Linked DNA regions of Homo sapiens: region 2 is linked to region 1. The links are contacts of gene promoters, found by promoter capture Hi-C in human tissues and cell types (Jung and others, 2019). All regions are on one chromosome and are shown on one strand. Each heading gives the region's core, a stretch centred on a gene start or on the middle of the fragment in contact. The rest is flanking DNA. Distances are from core to core; before and after follow the strand shown. Region 1 holds the start of PHF21B (PHD finger protein 21B). Region 2 overlaps SMC1B (structural maintenance of chromosomes 1B).

Evidence for each region. The method cuts DNA at HindIII sites, captures the fragments that hold promoters and counts their contacts. A contact is called where the count stands out against the background at its distance.
Region 2: a fragment that was not itself captured here is called in contact with the fragment with the promoter of PHF21B in region 1 in 2 of the 25 tissues and cell types used here (H1 embryonic stem cells and spleen).

What each region holds. Positions count from the first base shown.
Region 1 is chr22:45,007,107-45,013,083 of GRCh38, reverse strand. PHF21B (PHD finger protein 21B) reads left to right here and starts at 3,079. Exons shown (of 13, transcript NM_138415.5): 1 at 3,079-3,588; 2 at 4,474-4,539. The coding sequence starts at 3,535. RefSeq lists an enhancer at 4,099-4,700. The HindIII fragment of the contact is 18,572 bases long and covers 1-5,977 here.
Region 2 is chr22:45,396,861-45,402,837 of GRCh38, reverse strand. SMC1B (structural maintenance of chromosomes 1B) reads left to right here. Exons shown (of 25, transcript NM_148674.5): 5 at 267-505; 6 at 3,485-3,743. Among named protein-coding and RNA genes, the nearest start is that of SMC1B, 14 kb to the left of the region's middle. The HindIII fragment of the contact is 7,606 bases long and covers 1-5,977 here.

The DNA of each region.
Region 1 (5,977 bases), core at 1,830-4,329:
CCAATCTCAAGAGAGGTGCCTCTCTCACTAACCATGGCCCCCATCTCCTGACTGGCCCCCACATCCAGTTTCCACCATATCCTTCACATTACCACCAGGTCATCTCTGAGCAGAGGCCTGGTCATGTCTCATACCCCTGTGCGGAAACCTTGGGCAGGTCCCCTTGTCCACATAACACATTTAAAACCCCAGCATGGTGTTGTAGGACCTTGGGGTCTGGTCCTGCCATCTTTTCTGTCCTGTTTTTCTCCTCCAGTGAGCACTGCAGGCCCCCTGAGATCCCTCCTGCAGCCTACCCCAGGCCCATGGCTTATGCCTGCTCTTCTCTGGAAGCAAATCCATCCTCAGCCACTGGCCCAGATCTCCCAGCCCTGACGGGGAAGAGGCTACACATCTATCCAGGTCTCTGCTGCCTGAGTCTGTGGGTCCAATTCCAGGCAACAGGGCTTGTAAGTAACCTAATGCCCTGAGCCTCAGTCCTCTAACCTGTAAAATAGGGATACCAGACCTACCCCCGGAACTCAACGAGGGCAGGAGACAACAGGTATGAAGAGTGCCATGTGGATGGTAAAACTCAGAACAAACAGTATTACTACATTCTCAAGGCTCTGCTCAAGTTACTTCTTGACAAGCCCCTCTCAGACCACCCCTCTCAGAATTAACCCTTCCTTTGCCTGTCAGTCATTTTTCTCGCTCTGTGTTTAACACAGGGGCCCTGTGTCTCTGCTGTCTCTGTCGGATCTTTTGCTACACCATGCACTTAAACAGTGCTTTAAGATTCCACAGTCGGAGCCACTATCCTCTGGCCAGCATCAGCCTGAGACTGTGTGGACTGAAGATGACCTGAATATCCTCTGTTGATTTAATTACCCTACGTGGCTGATAAAATTACTCTGAATTTTTACCAAGAAGCCAGTGGCATTTACAGAGATTACAGTAGGAATCCTCTTTCTGCACACTTTCTCTCTGGCTCTCCAAGCATGGGTCTCCAGGGCAGTCCACTTTCCTGGGCTGGTGTTCAGCCCAGCAAAAGCACTAAGGAGGGAGGCCACCACCCTGACCCGGGCTAAACCCAGAAGTGGGAGGAGTGGGTACCTATTGGGGCACCCTGAGTCAGCCTCTTTGTTTTGCATTTGAGGAACCTTGCTTCTCCCTGCTTGGGGCAAAACCAAAGGAATCACGACCACTTCAAACACGGGCTAGTTTTGCATCCACATTAACCAGTGTTGGCTTATGGTGTGACTGTGGTCCCAGCTACTTGGGAGGCTGAGGTGGGAGGATTGCTTGAGCAGGTGAGGTGGAGGCAGTGGTGAGCTATGATTTCACCACTGCACATTAGCCTGCACGACAGAATGAGACTCACACAGTAAGTAACTATGCAAAAAACAGAGGGGCATGTATATGATCCTTACCGTAACCCACATATTTAACCTACGTAATTAAATCAACAGAGGTTATTCAGGTCATCTTCGGCCCACACAGATTCAGGCAGATGCTGGCCGGAGGGTAGTGGCTCCTCCTGTTGAGTCTTTTCTGTTTGTTTGTTTGTTTTTTCTGAGACAGAGTCTTGCTCTGTTGCCCAGACTGGAGTGCTGTGGTGCAATCTCGGCTCACTGCAACCTCTGCCTCCTGGGTTGAAGCAACTCTCCTGCCTCAGCCTCCCGAGTAGCTGGGATTACAGGCTTGCGCCACCATGCCTAATTTTTTGTATTTTTAGTCGAGACCATGTTGGGCAGGCTGGTCTCGAACTCCTGACCTCGTGATCTGCCCACTTCGGCCTCCCAAAGTACTGGGATTACAGGTGTGAGCCACCGCCCCCGGCCGGCCTCCTATGGAGTCTTAAAGCGCTGTTTGCAAGTTTCTGTTAACTAATTTGGGTTAAAGTAAGGGTCATCTACATGCCCCTCTGCTTTTTGCATAGTTACTCATATCCTAAGTCTCACTCTGTCGTGCTCTGAAGGCGAGGTGCTGGGTTGTGGGATGAGGGGCCATCTGTGTTTGGGGGTCCCAAACACGTAATTTATTACAAATTCCCTAACAGAGAGCAGAACAACACTGGGGTCCTCACTTGAAAAAAAAAAAAAAAAGAAAAGAAAGAAAAGGGGGAATTCCAATAACTTCTGCCAACAAAAGCAATGTGTGACCTGTTGGCATATGTTGAAAGGGACATTTGCTGATGGTGCTTGCTTGGGTATTTTTTGTGCTGCCGGAGAGGAATCTGAAGTTAAAACGACTTAACAGCTTAAACGTTTACTTTGACATATGATTGCACCCTTTCTCCCCAGCGTGTTTCAAACGTGCCAGTTTGCTGCCAACAGGGCACCCGGCACTCCGACCTGAATGAAGATGGCAGCCCCGAGGTGGTGACAGTGACTCTGGGACATTAACCTCCTGGCTGCGCGGCTGGGGGTTCTGAAACGCGACCTCCGCAGCTGTAATTATAATTGTTTTAGGTCGCATTGACCGGGCCTGTTTACGACTCTTAACAAGAGTCTTAAAATGTCCAGTGACATCTGTTGAGAGTTTAATCGTGTAAAAAAAAATCATTAAAGGAAGAGCCAAGAGATCAATTTTCTTGCTGTTTAAACAACACGGAGGCCATCAGGCGGCGGGGGAATGTGGCGACGCGACTAATTTAATCCCCCAAGTCGCGGCGCTGGTATGGACAGGAGGGGACGGAAGAATTTAAATAAAATATCAGAGGGAGGCGGAGGAGGGGGGAAAGGAGGGAGCCGAGGACCAGGGTGAGGAGAAATGGAAACACGGACTCGCAGCCTCCCAGCGGAAAGTGTCCTGATCCCGGCGTTACACGGCGCAGGGGGTGGGGGCGCCGCGTTCCCCGGGTTGGCCCGGGGACGGAGAGGATGACTCCGCAGTCGTCCTCTCCGAGCGCCCGGCCCGAGCAGTCCCCGGAGCCGGCGACCGTGCGTCCCCGTCCACCGCCACTTTTGTTCTCCGCTCGGGGTGCCGGGCCGCGGCGGGGCGGCAGTGCGCAGGCGCGGGCGGGGCGGGGGCGGGGCGCGGCGGGCTGAGGGTCCCGGCACCGCCCCCCGCCGCCCCGGCCCGCTCCATCCGGGCACTGCCGAATTAGCATCGTGCCGAGGCACAACTTTGCCGAGGCCCAACGAGATCCAGGCGCGCGCGCCGGAGGAAATATAGTCCCTGCCCGCGGGAGGCTCGCGCGGGAGGAGGCGGCGGCGGCGGCGGCTGGGCGGGCGCGCGCGGGGCTGCGCGGGGCTCCCGGCGCCGGGGGGGCCATGCTCCGGGCCGCGCCGGCAGCCCGGGGACCCGGCGCAACTTGCCGGGCAGCCTGAGGAGTTGGGGCAGCCGAGGGCTCGGCGCCGCGGCGCCCGGAAGCCTGTCTTCCCCTTCGCCAGCCCCCTTCCCTTTCGGCCGTGGGGGAGGGGGCTCGTGTCCCCCCCAACCCAGCCCGGAGGCCGCGTCCGCCCGCGCCCGCTCTGGCCCCCGCGGAGCCGCGCAACTTCCCGGGAGCCCGGGCCAAAGTGAGCGCAAAGTGCTGCCCAAGTTGCCGGGATGGAGCTGCAGAGCCGGCCCGAGGCGCTCGCCGTGGAACTCGCGCGCCACCAGGTAGGTGGCCGGGGGCCGGGCCCGGGGCCGGGGAGTGTGTTGCGGGGTGAGGGGGTCGGGGGACCCGAGCCCAGCATCCTCTCTTCCGGGTCTCTGGGTCTTCCAGGCTGGAGCCTGCCCGGGGGCGGGGGGCGAGGGAGTGAGCACACGCGCGGACCCCCTTCTGGGCTCCCCTCCGCCTGCCCCTGGCGCTGTCCTGCACAGTTTGCGGGATCGAGGACGCGTGGGACCCGAGCCTGGAGTCTTCTCTTAAGCGATGTAGGGTCTGCATGACTGGGAGGGTGCCTGGAGGGGGCCCCTTCGTGAGCCGGTCCCGGGGAGGGGAGTGCGAATAGGCCCCCTTCCGGCCTCCCCTCGGGCCCCCGCGCCCCGGGCGAACCTGCCCGGTGTGCAGAAGTAGTTTTGGCGATCGCTGCTGGCGAGCGGCGGCGTGGCGGCCGGAGCCTGAGCGGGGCTCGGCGTGCGCGTGTGTGTGTTGGGGAGATTAGGACGCGACTTGAATATTTATGAGCTTTGCTCGACACGGACTCGCCGTGTTTACTTGGCTCTTTGTTCCTCCCCCCTCCCCCGGCACACACTCACACTCACACTCACTCGCACACGCACCCCGGCCTGCAAACTTGCACGGCTCGGGGCGCGCCGCCGGGTGGCCTCGGCCCCCGCCCCGCCCCGCGAGCTGCCCCGATGAGGCGGCAGCCACAGGTAAGCGGCCCCGCGCGGCACTGCCCGGCCGCCGCGCGTGCAGGACGCGGCCCGGGAAACTTGGGGTGCGCTGCGGCCGGCCCCGCCCGTGGGGCTCCGGGCGGGGGGTGCCGCGGCCCGCGGTGCTGGGGTGCACCTGACCCCGGGTGGCCTGCCTGAGCCCGCTCCTCCGTGTTTCCGCAGAACGGCGACCTCAAGAAGCAGCTCCACGAAAGGCAGCCGCGGATCGCCGCGCTCAGCGACAAACAAGTAAGCGATGGGATCGCGGCCCCCCCTGGGATGGGGCGGGAGGGTGGCTGGGCACTTTGGCGGCGCCCTAAAAAGTGCCAGCCTGGGCGACGCACGCTCAGACTCCCAGAGGGGTCTGTCTCCAGTTCTCAAAGTTCCCCACCCCTCCCCTTTCCTGGAAAGAAAGAGCCGGGTTCTCGGAGGCGGCAGGGAGAGCCGGGCCCTGCGGGGGCCGAAGAGAGGAGCTCACTTAAAAGGCAGCGCGCGGCCCGGCGTCCATTTTGAGGTGGTGGACATGTTTTTGGAACGTGGCGATTTCTCCCGGCTCGGAGTCCCCCGCTTTGCGCTGAGGCGGCCATGGGGGCGGAGGGGGGCGGCCGTGGGGGCCTGGACACCAAACTCGTTGGAAGCGATTTCTGGGTTCCGTGGCAAACCTCGTTTTGAAATCGTTCCTCGAGGCTCCCTCCCCCCCACCACCTTCCACTTCCCTAGCTTCACTTTTTATTCTTGGAACCTGACGCCAGCTCCCGGGGAACAAAAGAAACGCGCCCCCGGGACTCCCCAGTTCTGCTCCAACTTTGGGCTCCGGGCGTTAGGTGTAGTTGGGGACACCTGAGAAGCTCCCACGCGTCGGAGGCGCGACCGCTCCCCCCCCTCCGGGCCCCCTCCGGGGAGGAAAAGTTGTCCATTGTGACTTAGTTGCGCTGAGCTCAGCGCTCGGGGTTTCAGCACCACGAACAGATGCCGCCGCCAGAGCCCGGCCGGCCGCGCGCCCCCGCCCCCTGGCTCCCGCCCCTCCTCCGCTGCCCCTCCCCCGCCGCGCCCCCTCCCCGCACTCGCACACCCGCCCCTTCCCCGCGCTCGCACACCCGCCCCTTCCCCGCGCAGCCCCGAGCCGAGAACTTTGAGCGGCGCAGCCAATGGCGTGCTGGGGGCACCGCTGTGGCGGGCACGGGGGCGGCGGCGCCCCTCCCTCCCTCCGCTGCCCCCTCCCTCCCTCCTTCGCGCCCCGCCCCCGCCCGCGCCGCGCCCCCGGCCATCGATCGCGTTTCCTTCGGAATGCCGGCCGCAGCCGCCAGCGCCAAACTTGGACAGCTCCGGGCCCGCCCCCGCGCGCCCCCGCCCGGGCCTGCCCCCGCGCTCCCACCCCAGCCCGGGCCGCCGGATCGGACGCCCCCTCCCCCGGGGGATTTTCTGGCGTAGGGGAGAGACGTGGACGAGGTTGGGGCGGCTGCCGGTGACCCTGGCGAGAGAGAATTCGGAGGCCGGGCGTTCGTGTCGAGTCTTTAAAGTTAAAAAGTGATGGGAGGGGGCGTGCGCGAGTGGCGGGTTTTGGGGGGGGCCGGGCTTGCTGAAAGGAAGATGGCAGTGCCGCGGCCCGCGCCTGGTCTGGGCCGCCGGGCTGGACCGAAGGCTTGGGACAAATGCGCTAACCCTTTTCAGTTGGTGCCGCGGCCCC
Region 2 (5,977 bases), core at 1,162-3,661, 390 kb before region 1:
AAAGGGACCCAGGCTAATGCATGCCACTTCTTTGTTCTCATCATCATACCACTGAGCGCAAGAACACAAAATCATTTGCTGGTGTATTGGGTTATTTAAAAAGTATATTCAGAAACCCTCGCCAAATTATGCTACTTTTGGCAAGAACATTATGTCCTAATAAATAAACATTCATTAGTTAATTTGTTGGTATAGTAGTTGAGTTTATGAAAGGCCAACTTAAATACACTCCCTTTTAACTGCTGTTGAATTATACTCTTTTATAGGCAGAACGTTACCAGAGTCTCCTTGAAGAACTGAAAATGAACAAGATACAACTGCAGCTTTTTCAACTATACCATAATGAGAAAAAGATTCATCTCCTGAACACCAAGTTAGAGCATGTGAATAGGGATTTGAGTGTCAAAAGAGAGTCTTTGTCTCATCATGAAAACATAGTTAAAGCCAGGAAAAAGGAACATGGAATGCTAACTAGACAACTACAACAAACAGAAAAAGAATTAAAGTGAGTTTTTAAAAGTAGATATTAACAGTTGGGTTATATGTAGCTTGATAGAGGGAATAATATAAGTGACACTTTGAAAATTGATTTTAAAAATAAGCTTTTTACTTTGGAATACTTTTAGATATACAGAAAAATTATAAAGATAGTATAGGCCAGGTGTGGTGGCTCATGCCTGTAATCCCAGCACTTTGGGAGGCTGAGGCAGGTGGATCACGAGGTAAGGAGATCGAGACCATCCTGGCTAACACGGTGAAACCCCGTCTCTACTAAAAATACAAAAAATTAGCTGGGCATGGTGGCAGGCACCTGTAGTCCCACCTACTCGGGAGGCTGAGGCAGGAGAATGGCATGAACCTGGGAGGTGGAGCTTGCAGTGAGCCGAGATCACGCCACTACACTCCAGCCTGGGCAACAGCGTGAGACTCCATCTCAAAAAAAAAAAAGGTGGTGTAGAATGGTCCTGAAGTGGTGGTGTTTGGGGTAATACCCGAGGTTCATTGCCTCACAGCAAGGAAATCAAGGATGCAGACACACAAGGAGTGAGGTTAAGAGTGGGTTTAATAGGTGAAAGAAAGAGAAAAGCTTTCTCATGCAGAGAGAGGGGCTCCCAATTGGGTCTTCTGGTCCACAGTGAAGTACAGGCGGTTTTATAGATGAGCTTGAGGAGGCGGTGTCTGATTTAGGGCATGAAGGGTTGTTCAGATCAGGTATTCCATTTGCATAGCACGTGAAGAACCGCTTAGGACTAGATGTGCCATTTGCATAGTGCACAAAGAAGCTGGCCATCCCACCCTAATTTTTTATTATGCAGATTCTGTACCTGGCTGGCGCCATGTTTGCCAGCTTTTCTACTGTACACGTGGTGACAAAGAAAAGGGAAGATGGAGCCTTCATGTTGAACATAGCTGGCTTCTGAGTACCCCTTTTCTATTGGCTCAGCTGCCGGCATTCACTCGTGTAAGCTTCCAGCTTGCTTATGTACCCCATTTGTAGCCTAATTTTTCAGGCTCCTCTTTGTTAGAAAAGAAATGATTTTGGGGCTGCTTTTCGTTAAAAGGGAAGCTCTGCTGAGGACTCTCTTAACCTTCACTATCTGCCTAAATAATTTATTTTTAGCCCCTGTATCAGTCCCATATTCCCAACACTCAGTTTCTCCTATTATTAATATCTTACATTATTATGATACATTGTCAGAATTAATAAACTAATATTGATACATTAACTAAAGTCCATACTTTATACATATTTTCTCAGCTTTTGCCTAATGTCCTTTTTATGATCCAGAATACCATATTACATTTAGTTATATGTCTCCTTAGGCACCTTTTAGCTGTGACAGTTCTTGTTTTTGATGAACTTGACAATTTTGAGGAATATTGGTCAGTTTTTTTATAGAACATCTTTCAATCCGGATTTGTCTGATGGTTTTCACATAATTAGACTGAAGATACAGACTGTGGGGAGGAAGCCCACAGAAGTAAAATGTCCTTCTCATTATATTCTATCAGAGTGTCAGTGTATTATATATGTTACATGACATTTATCATGTACTATATCATGTGTCATATCAACATGGTATCACTGTTGATGTTGACCTTGATCACCTGACTGAAGTAGTTTTTGTCATGTTTCTCCTCTGTGAGGTTATTTTTTCTCCCTTTTCATACTATAATCTTTGAGAGGAAGTCACTATGCTTAGCCCACACTTAAGGAGTAAGGAGAGTTATGTTTTACCTTGAGGGCAAAGTATCTACATGATTTTTTTGGAATTCTGCACAGATTTGTCTCTACTTAATTATTTTAAAATTAAATTAATTGTTATTTGTTTACATCAGTATAGATTTATGGATATTTTACATTTAGAGTTATAATCCAGTATTACATTGTTGATTTTGTTGCTTAGATTGTTCCTGCTGTGGCCACTGAGAACTCTTTGAGTTGGCTCCTGTGTCCCTTTGAAATATTCTCATTACTGTGATTTTTTTTTGGAGCTCTTCCTTACTTTCTAGAAGATAAGTATCTTCTACTGTCATCTTGTATAAGCCAGTCCAAGCATCAGCTTGCCCCAGCTTGTATGAGCCTGCCCCAGGCTCTCCAAGGAACCCTGGTTCCTTTTATCGGAGAACAGTATTAGGAACCAACATCTAGGTGGTAGGTGTGTTCGTTGCTACTGGAGTGTCCTTGCTTCTAGGCTTTCTCAGCTGTTGGAACTAGGAAATACCTGTGTATACTATTTATACACATAGCTATAAATATTTTCATATGTGACCATCTATATTAAGCTAAACATGAGTTCATATTGATGTCTCCCAATTCTAAGCCATTACCACATTAATCATTCTAGCCTTCTCTTGCTTATCTGTAACCTCCCACTTCAACAATGGGAAATCTGGCTTCTACCATCTGCCATCCATTTGCTTAATTGTGCATTTCCAGTAATCACGTGTAATAGCGTCAGAATTGTTAACCCGTACCCCCATGGAAAGCATCTTTGTAACTACAGTATAGTACTTATATACAATTCTTTTGCTTTTAGTCTTACAGACTCCACTCATTTCTAGAATTAGGTCAGCATGTTTTCCTTCCACCCCTTCAGTAAGGCTGTTTCTACATTTATAATAAAGTTAGATTTTTTATTGCATTCTACATTCCATATAGGATCCCTTAGCCTCCTGAGTGATTCTTTTTTAATTTGCTTACATTAAGGTTCATCCTTGGTGCTGTAAAGTAATACAGGTTTTGGCAAATTCATAGTGTCAAGTGTCTACCACTACAGTACCACTCTCAAAAGTGACCGTGTGCTTTATTCATCCCTCCCCCTGACCTTGCTCAACCTTTGGCAACCATTGATCTGCTTACAGTCTCTGAAAGTTGATTTTTAGGATTTCTTTTTTAAAGTGGTTTGATCAAAACAACTTCTTCCCTTTATATATTAAAGAAATGAAATTTTCTTTAAAGCAAACATTTTTCCCTTTTCAGATCGGTTGAAACCCTTTTAAATCAGAAGAGGCCTCAGTACATTAAAGCCAAAGAAAACACTTCTCACCACCTTAAGAAATTAGATGTGGCTAAGAAATCAATAAAGGACAGCGAAAAACAATGTTCTAAACAGGAAGATGATATAAAAGCCCTGGAGACAGAGCTGGCTGATTTAGATGCTGCATGGAGAAGTTTTGAAAAGCAGATTGAGGAAGAAATTTTACATAAAAAGCGAGACATTGAACTGGAAGCCAGTCAGGTAAAAAAGGACAACTTAGGGGAAATCTTGTGTTTCTATTATTTCAGCTGCTTTGAATTAGAAAAAAATTTAAAAGATGACCTCTCTGATATTTTAAGAGATTATCCTCAATGTAAATTGTGGGGATTTAAATTTTTCAGCCTGTATACAGAACTAGATTTATTTATTTTTAATTTTAATTTTGTAGAGAGAGGGTCTCGCTCTGTCACTCAGGCTGGAGTGCAGTGGCATAATCATGATGCAGGATTTTTTTTTGTTTGTTTTTGAGATGGAGTTTCGCTCTTATTGCCCAGGTTGGAGTGTAATGGTGTGGTCTTGGCTCACTGCAACCTCCGCCTTATGGGTTCAAGCGATTCTCCTGCCTCAGCCTCCTGAGTAGCTGGGATTACAGGCATGCGCCACCATGCCTGGCTGATTTTGTATTTTTAGTAGAGACGGGGTTTCTCCATGTTGGTCAGGCTGGTCTCAAACTCCCGACCTCTGGTGATCCACCTGCCTTGGCCTCCCAAAGTACGGGGATTACAGGCGTGAGCCACCATGCCCGGCCGATGCAGGATTTTTCTCAGTCACTTTGTCAGCCAGAGACCCTCAGTTGGTGACGCCCTTGCTCAGGCCTTGCTTGGTCCCACGTTCACTGCAGGAGACACCCTGTCAGCCTGCCAGGCCGCACCTGGCCTGCACTCTGGCGCGAATCCCACAGCTGCCACGACTGCTCACTCAGCCCCCAGCAGAAGAGGGTGTGTGAGCGAGCAAGTTTAGTTTCCAGCCAGCTGTTCCAAGTACCGGCACAGAAGCAGGCTTCATGTGGTGCTTGGAGCTGGACCAGGTGTGTTGCAAGCCACTTCCACAGTGGGCTCTGGCGCCCAGATGAGGGGAACACAGTGGCACCCAGGCAAGGGTGCTCCTGACCCCAAAGCCCCAGAGGGGGTGTTACAGTGTGCTAATCAGCTCTTTAGTCCTGTCTGCAGCCTGAAGGATGCACGTCCGAAGGCATGTTAACAGCTCTGTCAGCCTCTTGACCCACTCTGGCCCTCAGCTCTGGGGCTTGCTCGGCCCCACCACTGCTTCCTGTCATGTGGGGCAGCTGCCCTCTGCCAGCAGAGGGCAGAGGGCCACAGTGTTTCAGCCTTCTGTGTACCCACGTTCAGTGGGTCCTCAGTTCTTGTCCTGTGTCTAAGAAGAATGAAGCTACACTGGCAATCGAAGAGTGAGGAAGGCAAAGAAGAATTTTATTGAGCTATGAAACAGCTCTCAGCAGAGAGGGGATGCAAGAGGTCATCCACTACCTGAAGTCAGGTGGTTTCTCCCCCAGTGTAGCTGGGTCTGGGGCTTTTATGGACTCAGAATGGAGGAATGTGTGCTGATTGGTTTGTGAGTATGCAAAAAAAGGCTAAAACAACGGCACCACCCTAAAGTGGGTACAACAATGTGAAAAACCAATTAGGGAAGGGTAGGTGTATGTAAAATAGGTGAAGGGTAGGGATCAATCAGAGGTAAGCACACCAAACAGCAAGAGAGTTTCTCAGTCTTGTCTGTGGATTTACCCAGCACTTGTAGCTAGGCTTTAAACTGTCTTTGGCTTGAAGGTCAGGTTTCACTGGGGACCCACCCCTGTCTGTCTAGGATTTGTCTGTCTCCTGCTGCTATCAATCATAGTTCACTGCAGTGTCACTCCTGGGCTCAATTGATCCTCCCGTCTACAGGCGCATGCTACCACACCTGTCTAATTTTTAAATTTTTTGTAGAGATGAGGTCACACTGTGTTGCCTAGGCTGGTCTCAAACTCCTGGGCTCAAGTGATCCTCTTGCCTCGGCTTCCCAAAGTGCTGGGATTACAGGCATGATCCACTGTGCCTGGCCTAAAAGACTGTTTAAAATAGAGCAACAAAAACCTCTATACTAAGGTCTCTGTCCAAAAATCTTAAAAGAGAAAGGAGAATCCAGAGAAAATGATATATTTTTTTCTACTTATATAGTTATAATTATTTTGGTATATATAGTCATAATTGTTTTGGTATTTGGTATATTTGTGATATAAGATTATCATAAAATTGATAAAAGAGATAAACGATAAAAATGTGGTTGTTTGTCGATTACATGTTTTTGCCATCTAGTGATTTATTATAATTAAATCTTGTATAATAAGTTAGAGATTAATTCATCACTGAACATTTTAAAGCACCTTAAGTAATCAGTTTCCTTCTTGTCAATTAAGTGATCATGTCTCCTCAAAG